Linked DNA regions of Homo sapiens: regions 1, 3, 4, 5, 6 and 7 are each linked to region 2. Evidence: promoter capture Hi-C in human tissues and cell types (Jung and others, 2019). All regions are on one chromosome and are shown on one strand. Each heading gives the region's core, a stretch centred on a gene start or on the middle of the fragment in contact. The rest is flanking DNA. Distances are from core to core; before and after follow the strand shown.

Evidence for each region. Contacts are between HindIII fragments. The study calls those that stand out against the background at their distance.
Region 1: the fragment with the promoter of GSC2 here is called in contact with the fragment with the promoter of CLDN5 in region 2 in 5 of the 25 tissues and cell types used here (dorsolateral prefrontal cortex, lymphoblastoid cells, mesenchymal stem cells and 2 more).
Region 3: a fragment that was not itself captured here is called in contact with the fragment with the promoter of CLDN5 in region 2 in 2 of the 25 tissues and cell types used here (dorsolateral prefrontal cortex and lymphoblastoid cells).
Region 4: a contact is called between a fragment that was not itself captured here and the fragment with the promoter of CLDN5 in region 2, in 3 of the 25 tissues and cell types used here (dorsolateral prefrontal cortex, lymphoblastoid cells and pancreas).
Region 5: a fragment that was not itself captured here is called in contact with the fragment with the promoter of CLDN5 in region 2 in 2 of the 25 tissues and cell types used here (dorsolateral prefrontal cortex and lymphoblastoid cells).
Region 6: a contact is called between a fragment that was not itself captured here and the fragment with the promoter of CLDN5 in region 2, in 3 of the 25 tissues and cell types used here (dorsolateral prefrontal cortex, lymphoblastoid cells and mesenchymal stem cells).
Region 7: a fragment that was not itself captured here is called in contact with the fragment with the promoter of CLDN5 in region 2 in 4 of the 25 tissues and cell types used here (lymphoblastoid cells, mesenchymal stem cells, spleen and 1 more).

What each region holds. Positions count from the first base shown.
Region 1 is chr22:19,148,888-19,151,587 of GRCh38, reverse strand. It overlaps GSC2 (goosecoid homeobox 2), which reads left to right and starts at 1,296. Exons shown (of 3, transcript NM_005315.2): 1 at 1,296-1,563; 2 at 1,672-1,925; 3 at 2,493-2,700. The coding sequence starts at 1,305. The coding sequence ends at 2,597. RefSeq lists an enhancer at 1,845-2,344. The HindIII fragment of the contact is 19,488 bases long and covers 1-2,700 here.
Region 2 is chr22:19,523,072-19,525,771 of GRCh38, reverse strand. It overlaps CLDN5 (claudin 5), which reads left to right and starts at 1,362. Exons shown (of 1, transcript NM_001363066.2): 1 at 1,362-2,700. The coding sequence starts at 1,517. The coding sequence ends at 2,173. The HindIII fragment of the contact is 10,668 bases long and covers 1-1,592 here.
Region 3 is chr22:19,932,354-19,935,053 of GRCh38, reverse strand. All of the region lies in intron 1 of TXNRD2 (thioredoxin reductase 2), which reads left to right. It overlaps LOC124905081 (endogenous retrovirus group K member 24 Gag polyprotein-like), which reads right to left and starts at 1,387. Exons shown (of 2, transcript XM_047441689.1): 1 at 1,324-1,387. The HindIII fragment of the contact is 3,352 bases long and covers 1-2,700 here.
Region 4 is chr22:19,105,556-19,108,255 of GRCh38, reverse strand. All of the region lies in intron 1 of DGCR2 (DiGeorge syndrome critical region gene 2), which reads left to right. Among named protein-coding and RNA genes, the nearest start is that of DGCR2, 16 kb to the left of the region's middle. RefSeq lists an enhancer at 1,622-2,122. The HindIII fragment of the contact is 7,252 bases long and covers 1-2,700 here.
Region 5 is chr22:19,077,278-19,079,977 of GRCh38, reverse strand. All of the region lies in intron 2 of DGCR2 (DiGeorge syndrome critical region gene 2), which reads left to right. Among named protein-coding and RNA genes, the nearest start is that of DGCR11, 30 kb to the right of the region's middle. The HindIII fragment of the contact is 4,816 bases long and covers 1-2,700 here.
Region 6 is chr22:19,246,292-19,248,991 of GRCh38, reverse strand. All of the region lies in intron 3 of CLTCL1 (clathrin heavy chain like 1), which reads left to right. Among named protein-coding and RNA genes, the nearest start is that of CLTCL1, 44 kb to the left of the region's middle. The HindIII fragment of the contact is 4,231 bases long and covers 1-2,700 here.
Region 7 is chr22:19,192,829-19,195,528 of GRCh38, reverse strand. The region is part of intron 26 of CLTCL1 (clathrin heavy chain like 1); the gene reads left to right. Among named protein-coding and RNA genes, the nearest start is that of SLC25A1, 15 kb to the right of the region's middle. The HindIII fragment of the contact is 7,428 bases long and covers 1-2,700 here.

The DNA of each region.
Region 1 (2,700 bases), core at 47-2,546, 370 kb after region 2:
ATGTGGGAGCTCTTGTGACAGAAATTAAATCAGCAGGTTCGGTCACAGTGATGTCCACAGCACTTTCACTGATAGCAGAGTGGGGATGGCAGAGTCTTGCAGAGGGGCTGGCGGCGGGAGGAGCGCAGGAATACGCATTGCCCTGGGGAGGCGGCCAGGTTCTAACCGTCTCACACCTAGTCACTACACTTTACAGATTGGGAAAGCCAAGCCCAGAGGCTGAAGACGCCTATGGAGGTCACACGGCCAGAAATTGACAACGGAGTATGAGCCAGGCCGTCTGTTTCTCTGTGCTATGAGTCCCATACTGTATTTTCAAAGGTCAAGAGGAAAGGGTCTTAAGCTGAAGTGACGGTCCCGCTGCCAGGAGCCGCTTCACTGAGGGTGAAACAATGTAGCCAAGTGCGGGTCACCTGCGCTGTGGCAGAAGGGACCGAGGACGGTGTGGCCAGAGGACTGGCCTGGGCGGAGAGCGAGGAGGGGGAGCCCACAGCTTCTGGGGGGCAGTGACAGTGCGGGGAAGGGCGAGGTGCAGTGTTGGATGTTTTCGCGGGGATTCTGGGACCAGTGGGAAAGCTGGAGGACAGGCGGCTCTGAAGCACCGAGGAGGGGCCTCGGAAGGGGCGGGGAGGTCTCCTTGACACAGGTGAGGAGACGGAGAACTGGGGGCACCCGGCAGCCCAGGCTTCCTGCCGCGCTCTCACGCCCTCCAGGGCCATGAGACCCTGGCTCCGAGGTGGCGGGCAGGTTCGGGACCCGAGCGCGGCGGGATCGTGCGGTTGCCGGTGGTGCTGGGCCCCATGGAGGCTGCGGTCCAGGAGTTTCGGGTGGGCGGCTAGGCCGAGCTTCTGCAGGCGTGCTGAGCCGCCGCAGTAGGGCCCCAGAGGGGACGAGGAATTAGGCCCAGCCGAACGAGGGGGAGCCACCAGAGGCTGGGCCGGGAGGCACCGCCGCGCTCTGGGGAGCTGCCAGGGTCGGGGCGCCCTCCGAGCGGCTGCCAGGCCCCGCGGGCGGCGGCGAGGCGGCCCTCCGCCCCTTCCCCGCAGGTCGCCCTGCCAGCTTGAGCGGCGGGCGCGGGTGGGGCAGGAGGACGCGGGGCGGGGTGGGGGGCACAGGGGGCCCTCTCTGCAGCGCCCCCGGCCCCCGCGCGCGGAGGCAGGGCCGCCGCAGTCGAGGATTAGCGCGTTCGCGGCCGGCGCTGCGGGATTAACCCGCGTGGACTGGACGCCCGGCCCGGGGATTACTGCGCGCTCCCTCCCCGACGTATATATTCCCGCGGCGGCGGCGCCCCGGCCGGGCCGGGCATGGCGGCAGCGGCTGGGGGCGCGGCGAGCCGCCGGGGTGCCGGGCGGCCCTGCCCCTTCTCCATCGAGCACATCCTCTCCAGCCTGCCCGAGCGGAGCCTCCCGGCCCGGGCCGCCTGCCCACCGCAGCCCGCCGGTCGCCAGAGCCCCGCGAAGCCAGAGGAGCCCGGGGCGCCCGAGGCTGCGCCCTGCGCCTGCTGCTGCTGCTGCGGCCCCCGCGCGGCGCCCTGCGGGCCCCCAGAGGCGGCCGCCGGGCTGGGTGAGTGGGCGCGGAGCGGGGCGCGGGGCCCGGCGGAGCCCGGGGCGCGGCGCAGTGGGTGCCGAGCTTGGCCCCAGCCCCGCGCCTCACCGCGCCCTCGCTCCGCAGGCGCTCGTCTGGCGTGGCCGCTGAGGCTGGGACCGGCGGTGCCCTTGTCTCTGGGTGCGCCAGCCGGAGGTTCCGGGGCGCTCCCGGGCGCGGTCGGCCCGGGTTCGCAGCGGCGCACGAGGCGCCACCGCACCATCTTCAGCGAAGAGCAGCTGCAGGCGCTCGAGGCGCTTTTCGTGCAGAACCAGTATCCTGACGTGAGTACGCGCGAGCGCCTGGCCGGCCGCATCCGCCTTCGCGAGGAGCGCGTGGAGGTGAGTGCCCCGCCCAGCCTTTCCCCGGAGCGCGCGGGCCGCGGCTACACTGGACTGGGGTCCTGGCGGGCGGGCGCCCTTTGCAAAGACGGCCTCGGCCCAAGCCCCGCCCTGGCGCGCCGGAGGGAGGAGGTCCCTGGACGGCGCTGGGCGTCCGGGGGTATGAGGAGCGGGTGAGAGCAGGGAGGTGCCGCGGGAAAGGAACCGGAGGGCTACTTTTCTTTTCTTTTGTTTTACACTTTCCTCTGGTGACGAAAGAGGCCCGCGTTCACGTCCAGAATTTGGGAAATTCAGAAGAGCCCGCAACCCAAGAAGGGGCGTCCTGGTCGCCGCCAGCTGGAGGCTGGGGCGGGTACTAAGGGGGTTCCCATCTCGCGTCCAGACCCACCGAGTCTGTCCGCAGCGAATAAGGGCAGGTGGCGCGCAGCCGCGGCCCGGGTGTCGGCTCTACAGCGCCGTCCGCCCACATCCCTGTTGCGAAGCTCCCCTCTCGGTCCCTGTGGGACCCTCGGGAGCCGGTGGGACGCAGGACCTGGGGCTAGGGCTGAGCATTCCCCCCATCCCCAGGTCTGGTTCAAGAACCGCCGGGCCAAATGGCGACACCAGAAGCGCGCGTCGGCTTCCGCGAGGCTCCTGCCCGGCGTCAAGAAGTCCCCGAAGGGGAGCTGCTGATGACTCTAGGAGCTGCCCCTGGGCTCGGCCACCCTTTTTGGGATCTTTGGAGTTGGCGCTGAGAGAAGACAGGTCTACCCGAAAAGGAGCTGGGAGAGTACAC
Region 2 (2,700 bases), core at 113-2,612:
CTTTTTCTATGGAGGGCCCTGTCCAATGGAACTGAGCACAGACCAGATAAAAGAACTGGGCACCCAGTGGCCTCAGTCCAGGGCCTGGAGTTCAAACTTTACTGGAAACAAAGGGGCCGAGAGAGACTGGGGAAAGAACTACTAGAAAGGGGCTGGTGCCCCCATGGGGCTGTGGGTTTTGGAGCCGCGTGCCCCCACCTGAGCCTCAGGGGGCCCGGAGTGTCCACACCAGTGGACCTTTCGAGAAATGGCTGGGCCATTGTGCAGAAGAATGCCCGGAAATCCCGCGCCTCCCTCCTCCAGCAAGGATGGGGGCTCTTCCTCCTGGCCAGGAAACTCCAAGTTGGCTTCCGGAGGGTGGCCTGGGGGCTGGGGTGCCAGGGACACCATCGCCACTGGTGGGAGGGCAGGGCACAGCCCCTCCGTGTCCCTTTGTCTCTCCTGTCTGAAGGCCAGAGCAGGCTGCTAGGCCTGGGGCCACCACTGCCCCTGGGTGCTACACCCAGTGTGCTGGGTCACTGGGAACTTCCTGAAGTGGTGTCACCTGAACTGGGCCCCCAAGGATGGGGTGCGGGCAGTACCGCAGGAAGAGGAGCAGCCCCTGTGAAGATTGAGAGGTCTGGGAAGCCCCTGCGGCTTGGGAGAGTGGGGGTCGCCAGGCAGGGGGAAAGCCCCTGTGCCACCGCTTTTTGCCAGAGACTCAGGCTCCAGAGAGGCAGTGAGTGGCATGGGGGGTGAGGCTGGGGCCCTGGGCCTGACCTCCACACGCCTGCCTGGCCTCTCTGTTTGCCATGGGATGAGAGAGACAGTGCTGGGACTCAGAGCGGGGCTGGAGAGTGAGAGTGCGAGAAAGGGCCTGGGTGGGGCTTGGACCCCGGGGCGGGCTTTCTGGAGAGCCCCCCTACGAGGGCCTCTACGGCGGTGACGGGGTGGGGGGCTTCTGCAAACCTTGGTCAGGGAAGTGGAGCTGGCTCGAGTGGAAGAGACCACCCGGCTCAGTCGGGGATGTGGGAGTGGACTGGGTGGTGCAGACTGGGGGTCGAGCGCCTTCTGAAGTGACGGGGCCGGGACGCGCAGGGAGGCGGCCCAAGAAGCGCGCCCTAGGCCAGCCCAGAATGCGCTCGGCCGCGACTAGGACAACGGCGGGTGGGGCTGGGGGCGGCTGCCGGGCGGGGAGCGGTCCCGCGCCCTCAGCTACCCCTCAAGAGCCGTTGTTTCCCTAACTTCAGCTGCCAGAGGCTCTGTGATTGGCTGCGGCACGATGACCCGCGCACGGATTGGCTGCTTCGGGCCGGGGGGCCGGGCCCGGGGGACAGAATCCGCCCCCGAACCTTCAAAGAGGGTACCCCCCGGCAGGAGCTGGCAGACCCAGGAGGTGCGACAGACCCGCGGGGCAAACGGACTGGGGCCAAGAGCCGGGAGCGCGGGCGCAAAGGCACCAGGGCCCGCCCAGGGCGCCGCGCAGCACGGCCTTGGGGGTTCTGCGGGCCTTCGGGTGCGCGTCTCGCCTCTAGCCATGGGGTCCGCAGCGTTGGAGATCCTGGGCCTGGTGCTGTGCCTGGTGGGCTGGGGGGGTCTGATCCTGGCGTGCGGGCTGCCCATGTGGCAGGTGACCGCCTTCCTGGACCACAACATCGTGACGGCGCAGACCACCTGGAAGGGGCTGTGGATGTCGTGCGTGGTGCAGAGCACCGGGCACATGCAGTGCAAAGTGTACGACTCGGTGCTGGCTCTGAGCACCGAGGTGCAGGCGGCGCGGGCGCTCACCGTGAGCGCCGTGCTGCTGGCGTTCGTTGCGCTCTTCGTGACCCTGGCGGGCGCGCAGTGCACCACCTGCGTGGCCCCGGGCCCGGCCAAGGCGCGTGTGGCCCTCACGGGAGGCGTGCTCTACCTGTTTTGCGGGCTGCTGGCGCTCGTGCCACTCTGCTGGTTCGCCAACATTGTCGTCCGCGAGTTTTACGACCCGTCTGTGCCCGTGTCGCAGAAGTACGAGCTGGGCGCAGCGCTGTACATCGGCTGGGCGGCCACCGCGCTGCTCATGGTAGGCGGCTGCCTCTTGTGCTGCGGCGCCTGGGTCTGCACCGGCCGTCCCGACCTCAGCTTCCCCGTGAAGTACTCAGCGCCGCGGCGGCCCACGGCCACCGGCGACTACGACAAGAAGAACTACGTCTGAGGGCGCTGGGCACGGCCGGGCCCCTCCTGCCAGCCACGCCTGCGAGGCGTTGGATAAGCCTGGGGAGCCCCGCATGGACCGCGGCTTCCGCCGGGTAGCGCGGCGCGCAGGCTCCTCGGAACGTCCGGCTCTGCGCCCCGACGCGGCTCCTGGATCCGCTCCTGCCTGCGCCCGCAGCTGACCTTCTCCTGCCACTAGCCCGGCCCTGCCCTTAACAGACGGAATGAAGTTTCCTTTTCTGTGCGCGGCGCTGTTTCCATAGGCAGAGCGGGTGTCAGACTGAGGATTTCGCTTCCCCTCCAAGACGCTGGGGGTCTTGGCTGCTGCCTTACTTCCCAGAGGCTCCTGCTGACTTCGGAGGGGCGGATGCAGAGCCCAGGGCCCCCACCGGAAGATGTGTACAGCTGGTCTTTACTCCATCGGCAGGGCCCGAGCCCAGGGACCAGTGACTTGGCCTGGACCTCCCGGTCTCACTCCAGCATCTCCCCAGGCAAGGCTTGTGGGCACCGGAGCTTGAGAGAGGGCGG
Region 3 (2,700 bases), core at 107-2,606, 410 kb before region 2:
AAATCACTGTTATTCTGTTCTTTTTCAAGGTGCGCTGATTTCATATTGTTCAAACACACGTTTTACAATCAATTTCTACAGTTAACACAATTATCACAGTGGTCCTGAGGTGATGTATATTATCAGCTTATGAAGATAACAGGATTAAGAGATAAAGACAGGCATAAGAAATTATAAAAGTATTACTTGGGGGCCCAGGCGCGGTGGCTCATGCCTGTAATCCTAGCACTTTGAGAGGCCGAGGCAGCCATATCACAAGGTGAGGAGATCAAGACCATCCTGGCTAACATGGTGAAACCCTGTCTCTCCTGAAAGTACAAAAAATTAGCCAGGTGTGGTGGCGGGTGCCTGTAGTCCCAGCTACTCAGGAGGCTGAGACAGGAGAATGGTGTGAACCCAGGAGGCGGAGCTTGCAGTGAGCTGAGATTGTGCCACTGCACCCCAGCCTGGGCGACAGAGAGAGAATCTGCCTCAAAAAAAAAAAAAAGAAAAAAGTATAAAAGTATTACTTGGGAATTGATAAATGTTCATATTGAAATGAAATCTTCACTATTTATGTTCCTCTGCCACGGCTCCAGCCAGTCCCTCCATTCGGGGTTCCTGACTTCCTGCAACACAGGTGTGAGCCACTGTACCCAGACTAGGGGTGCAGTTTTTTTTTTTTTTTTTTTCTGAGACAGAGTCTCACTCTGTTAACCAGGCTGGAGTGCAGTGGTGCTATCATAGCTCACTGCAGCCTTGAACTCCTGGGTTCAACTCACCCTCCAGCCTCAGCCTCCCTAGTAGCTGGGACTGTGGGCCCTGCAGTTTCTCCTTTTAGAGTAGGAAGACCTGAACTGTCCCAGGCTTGGAGTGGGTGGGCGATGCAGCCCCTGAACAGGAGCCAGAATGACAACACCTGCTGCCAGGAAAGAGCTCTAGATAGAGCAGCCATACAGGAGGGCCCCTGAGGTGGCACCCTGAGGTGGCCAGCCTGCCTGTGGGTGCACATTTTGGGGGACCCTTCCACTTGCCCTCACTGGTGCAGTGCTGCATTCTCTTGGGCCTTGCTATGAGCTCTGGGCTCCTGCTCTTTGCTGGCCTGTACCAGGCAGTGGGTTCAAAGAGGAGCAGAAAATTAATGGACAATATGTCAGAAGGCAGAGGCAAGACAGACACTTGCTGGGGCCAAGCCCTGCAGGTGGAGAGGGTATGCCTGGCTAAAGTGGGTGAAAGGCAAGGTTATGAGGTTCTCCAGGACACTGGAGTGCACAGGTGGTGTGTCCCCAGGTAACGCCTGCCACCCAGCCCTTCCTCCCACAGAACAGCATCTGCCCTACCCACCTTTGAGGTACTTTGGGGTCCTTCCTTCCCAGCAGGCTACCCAAGCCCTTCCAAGTGCTTAAAGGCAGATTTCCTATGCTTGCAAACGACTGCCCTATGCCAGTGTTTATCAGCCCGAGAGGGCTCCTGGGTGTGCACAGGGGGCGAGCAAGCTGCCCAAGATAAGCACATCCATACAGACAGCTGCTCACCCTGCCTGATAGCAGACAGAGGGGGCACAGTGCGAGGCTGCAGGGCAGGATGACCTAACAAGGGCCCTGCTATGGCAACAAGAAGGACAGGCACCTGCCATGGAAGGTAGGGACGTTCTGAGCAAAGCTTCCGGCTACCAGGCAGCTGGAGGAGAGAGATGCTTCTCCATCAGCAGGTTCATGCTCCCCGGGGGACCTGGTGGCATTTTCTCCCTGACCAGCAGTCCTTGGTTCTCTAGACTTATATTAAAGCCATTAGAATAATTTACAACAATTTAGGCCTTTCCAGAGCCCTTGAGTTGAATTAGGAATTGAGTGTGCTTTGGACTGGCTGTTGGAACCGAGTTGTGGCTCTGTCAGTTCCCGCAGGTGCGCACACATCTCACGTGCACTCAGAGGCTGGCTGCCAGGTGAAAGAGTGGGTGGGTTTGGTTGTGGGGCAGGCTCGCTGCAGGCCATGGCCTGAGTGCCTGGATGCAGCTTCCCAAGCTTTCTCAGCTGTGAGCCAGGGCTCCTCTAGGCTCCAGCTCTTGTATCCTTTAGGAGTGCATGTTCTAGACCTGTCTGTGGGGCATCTGCAGGGCCAGGGTGTGGAGAGACATGACACTCCAAGTACACTCTCTGCAGCCTTGCCTGCCTAGGAAGGTGGAGGTGGCTGCAAAGATAAGTGCAGCCTTCTCATGGCAGACGCTAGGCTCTGATGGAGGTGTTGGGCAGGTTGCCCAGCCTTGTATGACAGACCCTGCTCTGATCATGGAACCTCTTGGCCTTGTCTGAAGCAGCGACCGGCTCCAGATGCTCTGGGAGGGTGGTGCTTCTCATCTGGGCAGGCTCGTGTCTGCAGAGGGGCTGAGGGCACTACTTGTTTTATACCCTAGAGTCTTGTCATCAGTCCCCACCCTGCCCTCACCCCAGCAGACTGATGACTTGCTATTATTTCTTCCTTCCTTCAGCAGGGAGTTGGCTGGTGCCTGGTGCTGGGTGTCCCGGACCTCAGGCCCAGTTCAGTGTACTTCCCCTCTCTACTTCCTCCCTCCAGTCCCTTCTCCATCCCTCCCTTTTTTGGCTGCCCCTTGCCTGCCTTCCTCGCCAGTAGCTTGCAGAGTAGACACGATGACACCTTTTGCAGGCTAAAAAGGCTGAGAGTGGCACTATGTGCAGTGAGCCACCATGGAGGACCAAGGTG
Region 4 (2,700 bases), core at 1-2,500, 420 kb after region 2:
AGACTTTTTTAATTTTAAAGAAGTCTGATTTATCATTTTTTCTTGTTATGGTCATGCTTTCTGTTTTTGTCTAATAAATCCTTGCCTACCCCAAGGTTACGAAGTTCTTCTCCTTCCCTAGTAAAATCTGAGCTTCGTGGGGGCAGACACCTTATGGTTCTCCTCCTGCTCTTCTCACTTGTGTCCTGTACAACACCTGGCCCCTAGGAGGTACACGGCGGTGTTCATGGAAGGAGCAAATGAGTTGTCTTAAGGATTCATAATAATGTATTCTAAGCACTTGATATACTGCCTGGCACATGCAAAATGAGCATTCAGGAATCTGATTTGACTACAGCTGTTCTTTCTCTTAGAGAAATTGGCTGCGCTATCCTGTGGCTATGATCGAAATGTGGTGCGAGTGTTGGATGAAACTGCTGGCTGATGTTTACATCAGATGCGAGATAGCTCTCGCTCCAGTTCTGTCCCACCCTCCTGCCCTGGTCTTATTCCCAAGTATGTAGCCCCTCCTGCCCGAACCCCCATGAAATAAGGACTGATTGCAAGTTGCTGTTCTTTTCTTGAAAGTGTCACTCATGGAATAGGTATGCTTGGTGGACCTGCCTTTCTCTTCTTTCATCTTATATGATCCCTTCCTTTTTCTTAGGACCTTCCCTTCTTTTCTAGGATAACTTATTTTAAACAGGGCCTTCTTTCCCAAACATCTGCCTAAGGAGAAGCCACAGGGCAGAGCAGCTGAGCCAGTGTTTTGGTTGGACAGCATCTACAGATAGATGGTAGCAGGTGGTGATCACTTCTTCTCCTGGAGGTAGAAAATGCTTGTTATTTATGAGAAATAAATGCTGAAGCATAGGCCTTGTCCCTTTGTTCTTGTGTGGTGTTCCCCAGTGTCAGTGTTGTGACCCCTTGGGCTGTGGGAGAAAGTGGCTGGCACTCCCCTAGCGCTTGGCAACCCTACTCCCTCTCCACTGTTGCAGGAGAGCTGGCCACCTGTCTCCAGTGGTGGTGATGGGGAGTCAGGAGCTCCAGGGTCCAGGGGAGGAGTGACTGAGGGTGGAGCCTTCACTCAGAGATTCCACTTGCCCCGGGGGCTGTTTGGAAATGGGTTTGGTGGTTATGTGTTTGGGGAGCTACTGCCATTTAGGGAGCCATATCAAAGAAGTTGCAGGCATATTTCAAAACCACAGCAGGAGTGTTTGCAGGTGTAAAATATTTTGTTCTAGTAACTGGCCACTGGTAGGGAAAAAAAGTACAATATGTTGGTACATCCTTGGCTCTGCACCAGACTGGTGGTGGGGCTCTGGTATCCCTGGGCTTTGTGCAGTGAGCCCCCAGAGGCTCTGCTGACTGCTGTCTCGGTGAAGGAAATGGCTCAGAACTGGAAAGTTTGGACCTGGTCCTCTAGGGAGTCAGAATGCAGAGCCCCACCCAGGGGCTCTGCTGGCTTCAGGGATGGGGATTTGGGTCAAAGAGCCCACAGCCTGACCTCTGATGCCCATTCTGCTGCTGCCAACTTGATGTGGGACACTGAGTAGGCGGGTCAGCCCCTCTGAGAAGCTAGCTGGCTGGACTAGTTGGGGGTTTCAATACATAGAACAGCTTCGGGCCTTCCTTCACATTTTGCTAATGAAACTTCCAATCTCATCATTTTCCATGAGCCACACATGTCTTGTTCCCGTTTGAACTCTGGGCCCTCATGGGTGAGGAGCCGGCTGGCCTCTGGGCTCCTTGTGGCTTGAGGTTCAGATGCTGGCATCGTTGGTGCTGTAGCCTGGTGGCTGCCAGTACAGAGGATGCTCAGGCCTCCAGGTATCAGCAGTCTTCACTGCCCCCTGCTGCTGAGACGCAGTGGCAGGTCAAACTGCACAGAACCCCTGGCCATGGTTCCTGCCTCCCATCCTCTCTTTGCCCTTGTGGGTCCCTCTCAGAGCATTTATCTCTGCAGAGGACCTCCCAGGATTGTTCCTAAGGGTGGCATATGTGAAACTTCAGCAGCTGAGCATTGTTGGAGTAATTTTCTCTTTTGGGCCTCATCACCTCCGTGGAAGTCAGGAGGGATAGGCAGGGCAGGATGGTCACCTCCATGCTTTACAGATGGAGGAAGCAGCCTGGCGAGGCTGAGCAGGGTTGCACGGGCCAGGAGCTGAAGCCTGCTGTTTGTCTCGCAACGGATCTCTGGGGCGTCTTTCCAAGCCAGTCTCCCTGCGTGGTTCCAGGAAGCTACAGGGGTGGGGAGGTTGTGTGCTGGCCTGCTGGTGCTACGGGGCAGTGGCAGCGATGGGGAAGGGGCTAGACGGGCTTCAGGGGAGAGCTGCAGGGACTGGTGAGCCGGGACCCCCAAGAACCTGGATGTGGGGCTTTGCGGGAAGGTTAGAGGTGGCCCTTGGACTCCATAAAAGGGCAGATGGCATTTGAGCACTGTAGAGAAGGCAGGGAGTTTGTGATGTGATCACAGTTGGTTCTGGGATGGTCTGTGCACTGTTTGGAATGCCAGGTCCTGCCTTTCCTCACTTCCTAGCTCTGCCCTCCCAGGTCTGCTCTCTGTCTGACGCAGGTTGGTGTTCTGATGATGCACTCCTCCATCGCCAGCCGCGTCCCTTTCTGGAGTTATAGCACATCCCATGAAGCTATCTGGTCCCGAAGTCCCTCTGGGGCCCCGGAGTACAGTGTGCCTTCCAGAGCGTGCATCGCTCCCTTCCC
Region 5 (2,700 bases), core at 163-2,662, 450 kb after region 2:
GCCCACTAGGCTCACTAGAGCCTCTGGCTAGCTGGGTCACCTTCCTCTTATGATGAAAGACAACCAGTGCTGACCAGATCTAGAAGAAAACATCCACTGTGGATATTCGCCAGAGTCTGAACAAAGCACACCAGACCAGAAGGGCCACAGCAAAGTGGCCTGAGGCAGCCAGCTCTGCTGTATGTCATATCGTGGTTAAATGTGGGGGCTTGAGCCAGGGACTGGGGCTGCTCCCCTGCTTTCACCACTTACTGGCTGTGATCCTTTGGGCAAATTGCATCCATAAAATGGAGAAAATAATAGTGCCTGTCACTTGGGGTTGTTGTGAGGATTACATTACATGCTACATATAAAGGGATTAGACAAGAATGTAGCACACAGTAATCCCTCAATTAGCAGTTACTTTATTCATGTAATAAAACTTAAAAAAATGTATTCTGACATTGGTAAAATGGCAGTCCAGGAAGCTCCAGGTTCTCGTTCCACCATAGAAAACATTAATAAGCAACTAGGGACTAGATGGAATAACTTTATAGAAGCTCTGGAAAACAGTCAGAGGTTTCTTAGCCCAGCTAAGAAAATGCCTAATCAAGAAAAAGCCACATTCAAAATACAGATTGAGTATCCCTTAACTGAAATGTTTGGGACCAGAAGTGTTTTGGATTTTGGATTTTTTTCTGATTTTGGAATATTTACATTATACTTACCAGTTGAACACTCCAGTGAGCATTTCCTTTGAGTACAACGTTGGCACTCAAGAGTTTTGGATTTTGGGCTGGGCTCATATCTGTCATCTCAGTGCTTTGGGAGTTCAAGGTGGGAGGATTACTTGATGCCAGGATTATAAGAGAATACTGTTAAGAATTGTACATTAACAAATTGCTTAACCTAAATGAAGCGGACACATTCCTAGAAACATACAACCTGCCAAGACTGAATCATGAGGAAATAGAAAATCTGAATAGGACTATAATTAATAAGGAGATTGAATCAGTAATCAAAAACCTCTCAACAAAGAAAAGTCCTGAACCACATGGCTTCACTGATGAATTCTCCAAACGTTTAAAGAAGAATTAACATCAGTCCTTCTCAAGTGAATTCATTCTGTGACTCTAACATGCCCTGATACCAAAGCCAGACAGTAATACTACTAGAAAATTACAGACCAATATCCTTTGTGAATATTGATACAAAATCCTCAACAAAATACTAGCAAAACCAAGTTAACCAAGTTTAGCAGTCTGTCAAAAGGCTTGGACCAAATGTAATGCAAGGATGTCTCAGCAAACTAAAATCAGTCAGTGGTCAAAGACTGAAAGCTTTTCCTCTAAGATCAGAGACAAGACAAGGATGTCTGCTTTCACCACTTATTCACCATAGTATTGAAGTTAATTGCCCACAGTAATTAATCAAGAAGAGAAAGCCATCAAAATTGGAAAGGGAGAAGTAAAGTTATCCCTGTTTGTATGTGTGACGACATGATTTTATATATAAAAACCTTAAAGATTTCACAGAAACATGGTTAGAACTAATAAATGAATTCAGCAAAATTGCAGGGCACAAAGTCAAAACACAAAATCAGTTGTATTTATATTTATGTACACTAACTCAGCTATCTGAAGAGGAAATTAAGAAAATAATTCCATTTACAGTAATAGTACAAAGAATAAAATACAGATATTCCTCAACTTATAACAGATTTATGTCTTAAACCTATTGTAAAGTCGAAAAATTTTTTAGTCAAACTATCATAAGTTGGGGGTCTGTCTGTACTAAAGAATATTCTTAAGTACACATGAAAGACTGAAAACACTGACAACTACAAAATGTTAAAAGAAATTAAAGAAGACACTGGGTGTGGTAGCTCACACCTGTAATCCCAGCATTTTGGGAGGCCAAGGCGGGTGGATCACTTGAGGTCAGGAGTTCAGGACCAGCCTGGCCAACATGGCAAAACCTTGTCTTGGTGAAAAATACAAAACTTAGCTGGGTGTGGTGAGGTGCACCTGTAGTCCCAGCTACTCAGGAGGCTGAGGCAGGAGAATTGCTTGAACCCAGAACGTGAAGATTGCAGTAAGCTGAGATCGCACCACTGCACTCCAGCCTGGGTGACAGAGTGAGACACTGTCTCAAAAAAAAAAAAAAGACAAAAATAAATTGAGAGATGTTCCATGCTCATGGACTGTAAAACGTAAGATGTGACTATTACCTAAAGCAATCTACAGATTCAATCCCTATTAAAATGCCAACAAGTTTTTTTTGCTGAAGTAGAAAAATTTATCCTAATGTTCATAGAATCTCAGCAGACTCCAAAGAGCCAGAACAGTCTTGAAAAAGAAGAAGAAATATGAAATCCTCATAATTCCTGACTTTAAACCTTATTACAAAGCTGCAGTAATCCAAACATTGTAGTATTGGTATAAAGACAGACATATAGACCAATGGAATAGAATACAGAGCCTTAGCAATAAGTCCTTGCATACAGTGGTCAAATTATTTTCCACAAGGATGCCATTACCATTCAGTGAGGGAAAAAGTGTCTTTTCAGAATGAATGGTGCTAGGAAAACTGGACATACAAATCAAAAGAATAAAGTTAGACCCTTAGCTAATGATATACAAAACTTAACCCAAAATGGATCAGGCTTAAATTTAAGACCTTAAACTATAAAATTCTTAGAAAAACATAATAAAGTCTTCG
Region 6 (2,700 bases), core at 194-2,693, 280 kb after region 2:
GTTGTTCAATACAAGGTCTTGGGGCGCTGGACATTTATATGCAGAAGCATTAAATGGGACCTCTGTCTCATAATACTAAAAAACTCAAAATCGATCAGACCTAAATGTAAGAACTGAACCTATAAAACTCTTAGAAGGGCCAGGCACAGTGGCTCATGCCTGTAATCCCAGCACTTTGGGAGGGAGGCTGAGGCAGGCAGATCACCCTGTGGTCAGGATTTCAAGACCAGCCTGGCCAACATGGCGAAACCCCATCTCTACTAAAAATACATCATGAATGAACCTTGGAAATATTAAGCTAAGTGAAAGATGCCAGTCACAAAAGACCACATACTATATGATTCCATTTATTTGAAATGTTCAGGATAGTCTGACCTATAGACACAGAAAATAGATAAGTAGTTGCCTATGACTGGAGGTGGAGTCTGGGAGATAGGAATGAGGATTGAATGCTAATAGGGTTTCTTTCAAAGGATGAAAGTGTTCTAAAACTATGTTGTAGTGATGATTGCACAGCCCTCTGAGTATACGAAGAAACATTGGATGGTATGCTTTAAACCAGGGGTGTCTGATCTTTTGGATCCCCTGGGCCACACTGGAAGAAGAATTGTCTTGGGTCACACATAAAATACACTAGCAATAGCTGATGAGCTAAAAACAAAAATTGCAAAAAAATTCATAATTTTTTTTTTTTGAGACCGAGTTTTGCTCTTGTTGCCCAGGCTGGAGTGCAGTGGCATGGTCTTGGCTCACCGCAACCTCCGCCTCCCGGGTTCAAGCGATTCTACTGCCTCAGCCTTCCTGAATAACTGGGACTACAGGCATGCACCACCACACCTGGCTAATTTTGTATTTTTAGTAGTGATGGGGTTTCTCCATGTTGGTCAGTCTGGTCTCGAACTCCTGACCTCAGGTGATCTGCCTGCCTCGGCCTCCCAAAGTGCTGGGATTACAGGTGTGAGCCACCATGCCCAGCCAAAAGTTCATAATGCTTTAAGAAAGTTTATGAATTTGTGTTTGGGCCACATACAAGGCTATACTGGGCCACATGTTGGACAAGCTTGCTTTAAATAGATAAGTTCTATGGTATGTGAATTATATCTCAATTAAGCTTTTAAAAATACCCTTGGGGGCCAGGCACGGTGACTCACACCTTTAATCCCAGCACTTTGGGAGGCCAAGGCAGGAGGATCACCTGAAGTCAGGAGTTCGAGACCAGCCTGGCCAATGTGGTGAAACCCCGTCTTTACTAAAAATACAAAAATTAGCCGAGAGTTGTGGCATGTGCCTGTAATCCCAGCTACTTGGGAGGCTGAGGCGGGAGAATCGCCTGAACCCAGGATGCAGAGGTTGCAGTGAGCCGAGATCACACCATTGCACTCCAGCCTGGGCAACAAGAGTGGAACTCTGCCTCAAAAACAAAACAAAACAAAACAAATGACAACAACAACAACAAAATAAAAACTCTTGGGAATTATGCCTCTTTACAAAGAAATCATCATGTTTGAAGAATATAAAACAAAAATTATAAATCATAGTTACATGTATATGCTTTACTGACAAACTAAAAAACAACAAATAAAAAAATCCCATGCATTTACCAACAACAAAACACCTCATGGGCATAAGAATAGACATGTAGACCAATGGGAAAAAATGTAAGGTCCAGGAATACACCCCTACATCTGTGGCCAATTGATTTTTGATGAGAGTGTCAAGACTGTTCAATGGTGAAACAATAGTCTCTTCAGGAATGGTGCTGGGACAACTAAATATCCACATGCAAAAGAATGGAGTTGGTCACCTGCCTCACACCATGTACAAAAATAAACTCAAAATAGATCTGAAACCTCAATGTAGAAGGTAAAACTACAAAACTCTTAGAAGAAAACATAAGGAGAAAGCTTTATGACTTTGGATTTGGCATGGATTCTTAGATATATAATAGCACCAAAAGCCTGAACAACAAAATTAAAAAATAGATAATTTGGACTTCAGAATTAAAAACTTTTGTGCATAAAAGGATATTGCCAATAAAGTGAAAAGACAACCTGGGATGTAATATTTGAAAATCATCTATCTGATAAGGGTCTAGTATCCAGATATACAAAGAACACTTACAACTCAACAACAAAAAGTCAACCCAGTTAAAAAGTGGGCAAATGACTTGCTTGACATCATTAGCCATTAGGAAAATGCAATTCAAAACCACAATGAAGTACCACTTTACACCCACTCGAATGGTTATAATTTTTACAAAGTAGAAAATAAGTGTTGGCCCTGAGGTCAGGAGTTTGAGACCAGCCTGACCAACATGGAGAAACCCCATCTCTAGTAAAAATACAAAATTAGCCGGGTGTGGTGGTGCATGCCTTTAATCCCAGCTACTCCGGAGGCTGAGGCAGGAGAATTGCTTGAACCTGGAAGGCAGAGGTTGAAGTGAGCCGAGATCGCGCCATTGCACTCCAGCCTGGGCAACAAGAGCGAAACTCCATCTCAAAAAAAAGAAAAGAAAAGAAGTGTTGGCAATGTTATGGAGAAATTGGAACCCTCCTACATTAGTGGTAGGAATATAAAAATGTTCAGATGCTGTGGAAAGCAGTTTGGTGGTTCCTCAAAAAGTTAAACATAAGGCCAGGCGTGGTGGCTCACACCTGTAATCCCAGCACTTTGGGAGGCTGAGGCAGGTGGATCACGAGG
Region 7 (2,700 bases), core at 90-2,589, 330 kb after region 2:
CTTGTGACTGGAGTGGCACAGCAGTGAGCTGTGGCCTCGCTCATGCACCTCTTTTCCACATGCGGCTACTGAGGGTGGGCGCGAGTGGCACGTGTGCTGCCAGGTGAGGCCTTCAGCCTCTGCCTTTCCTGGGAACTATTTGAAGGAACCCAGTATTGAGCACCAGGCCACAAGCCCGAGCTTCTTGTTGGAGGACATCCATGTTACTGGGCATGGTGGTACGTGAAAGTGGGGGCCTTTGATGGGGCGTCCCACCCTGAGCAGAGTCTGCAGGTTGCTGGAGGGAGTGCGGCCAGGTCATACCTTACTGTGGCCTGGCACACGTGGCTGCTGCCTTGTAGATTTGTCTGTGTGCTGGAAAATCCATACTTGATCAATCCTGTGTGTATTTTATTCACATTGTAACTCCTCTGATATTAGGGTGTTTTTAAAAATTGCTGAGCCGTGGTGGAAGTGGCCATGCTTTTGTTTCTTACTGGCATATAAAATAATAGCAGGACAGCTGAGACTCACTGTGTGGGAGAGCAGCATCTCTCATCTGGTGCCTGCAGGGCTGATGGCTGAGTCCAGTTCCTTGTGTGATTCATGATGCTTCTACTACACCCTGCCGTGTGGGAGACAGACACTGTCAGCTCAGGTGTGAAGGGGGTAGGAGGATACTCGCCAGTGCAGGGGTCCAATCAGATGGACGACATCCAATCTGTATTTGGGGCACACGATAGCAGGAATCCACTTAGCCATAGGGCTGGGCCAGCAGCAGCCTGAGCAGGGGAGCTTGCTAACTCACACGGGGGGCACCCCAGCTCAGCCATTCACTGTCTCTCTCCATGTGGGCTAGGGGTGTCACCGCTGTGAACCTCGTTATCCCATCCATACAATGGACATCATGTTTCCTCCCGACCAAGTGGTCCATGGCAGGTGCCTGGCATCCGGTGGGCGCTTCTTTCAGGTTGTGCAGCACAGCACGCCAACCAGCTATCCTGGAGCTTGTGGCGGAATCTCAGCTTCAGTTTTCTCTTCTTTTTTTGTTTTATTATTATTTTTCTTGAAACGGAGTCTCACTCTGTCACTCAGGCTGGAGTGCAGTGGCGCGATCTTGGCTCACTGCAACCTCCGCCTCCCAGCCTCGAGCGATTCTCCTGCCTCAGCCTCCAGAGTAGCTGGGATTACAGGTGCCTGCCACCACGCCCGGCTCATTTTTGTATTTTTAATAGATACAGGGTTTTACCATGTTGGGCAGGCTGTTCTCAAACTCCTGACCTCAGGTGATCTTGAGAGGTGACGCCACCTGGACTTCTTGGGTCGGGTGGGGACTTGGAGAAATTTTGTGTCCAGCTAAAGGATTGTAAGTACACCAATCAGCACTCTGCATCTAGCTAAAGGATTGTAAATGCACCAATCAGCACTCTGTAAAAAACGTACCAATCAGCACTCTGTAAAATGGGCCAATCAGCACTCTGTAGAATGGACCAATTAGCGCTCTGTAAAATGGGCCAATCAGCAGGATGTGGGTGGGGCCAAATAAGGGAATAAAAGCTGGCCATGCGAGCCAGCAGTGCAACCTGTTCGGGTCTTTTTCCATGTTGTGGGAGCTTTGTTCTTTTGCTTTTCACAATCAGTCTTGCTGCTGCTCACTCATTGAGTCTGCACTAGGTTTAAAAGCTGTAACACTCACTGCGAAGGTCTGGAGCTTCATTTGTGAAGTCAGCCAGATCACGAACCCACCAGAAGGAAGAAACTCACACCTCTCAACATCTGAAGGAACAAACTCTGGACACAACATCTTTAAGAGCTGTAACACTCACCATGAGGGTCTGTGGCTTCATTCTTGAAGTCAGTGAGACCAAGAACCCACCGGAAGGAATAAATTACAGACACAATCCGCCTGCCTTGGCCTCCCAAAGTGCTGGGATTACAGGCGTGAGCCACCACGCCCAGCCTTCAGTTTTCCCTTGTATAAAACAGGGATACTACCATGTCTTCTGGGGTGCTGGCTGTCCTTGCTGACCATGCTAGTGGGCACGGGCCTGCCAGTGCTCCATGTCCTGGCGCGTGGCTAGTGGACTCACCCCATCCTGTCTTTCAGCTTGGATCTGGAGGACGCTCCAGAGGGGCCCCGCCGCTCCATTCCTCCTGTAGTGCAGAGGGCTCCAGATCCCAGCAGCTGAGCCCAACAGAGATGTGTGTCCCTGCAGGCCTCAACACCAGAGGAACTGGGTGGGAACATGGCAGTTATACTCCACCTTAAACGGCATTCCGGCCATGCTGCATGGACCTGTTGAAAGGGCCAAGAGTGCACATGGTACCAGGTGTCCCACAAGGGAAGCTAGGACTGCTGGTGCCCCACTTCAAGTCTGTCCACTCGCGTGATACCTGCAAGAGTCTCTGAAATGGGCTTGTCCTTGGATGGTTCCTCTCCTTCACGGGAGGCCTGAGGAGCCTTGTGGTTGGTGGGGAAGCAGGTGGGGCTTTGAGGAGGTGATTCGCCACAGAAGATGAACTTGAGTCCCTACCCTTCTCTTCAGCCCCACATCACATCCTGACTGCTCTCTGCTTCTTCAGTGTCTAGTTGAGGCCCCCATGTCCTGGCCCTGCTGCTGAGTAAAGGGCCAGCCTAGAAGGCTGACAGGTGCTAGAGCTCCAATAGGAGTGGACCCACAGTGGCCTGTGGCAGAGTCTGGGGGCCCACCAGTGCCATAG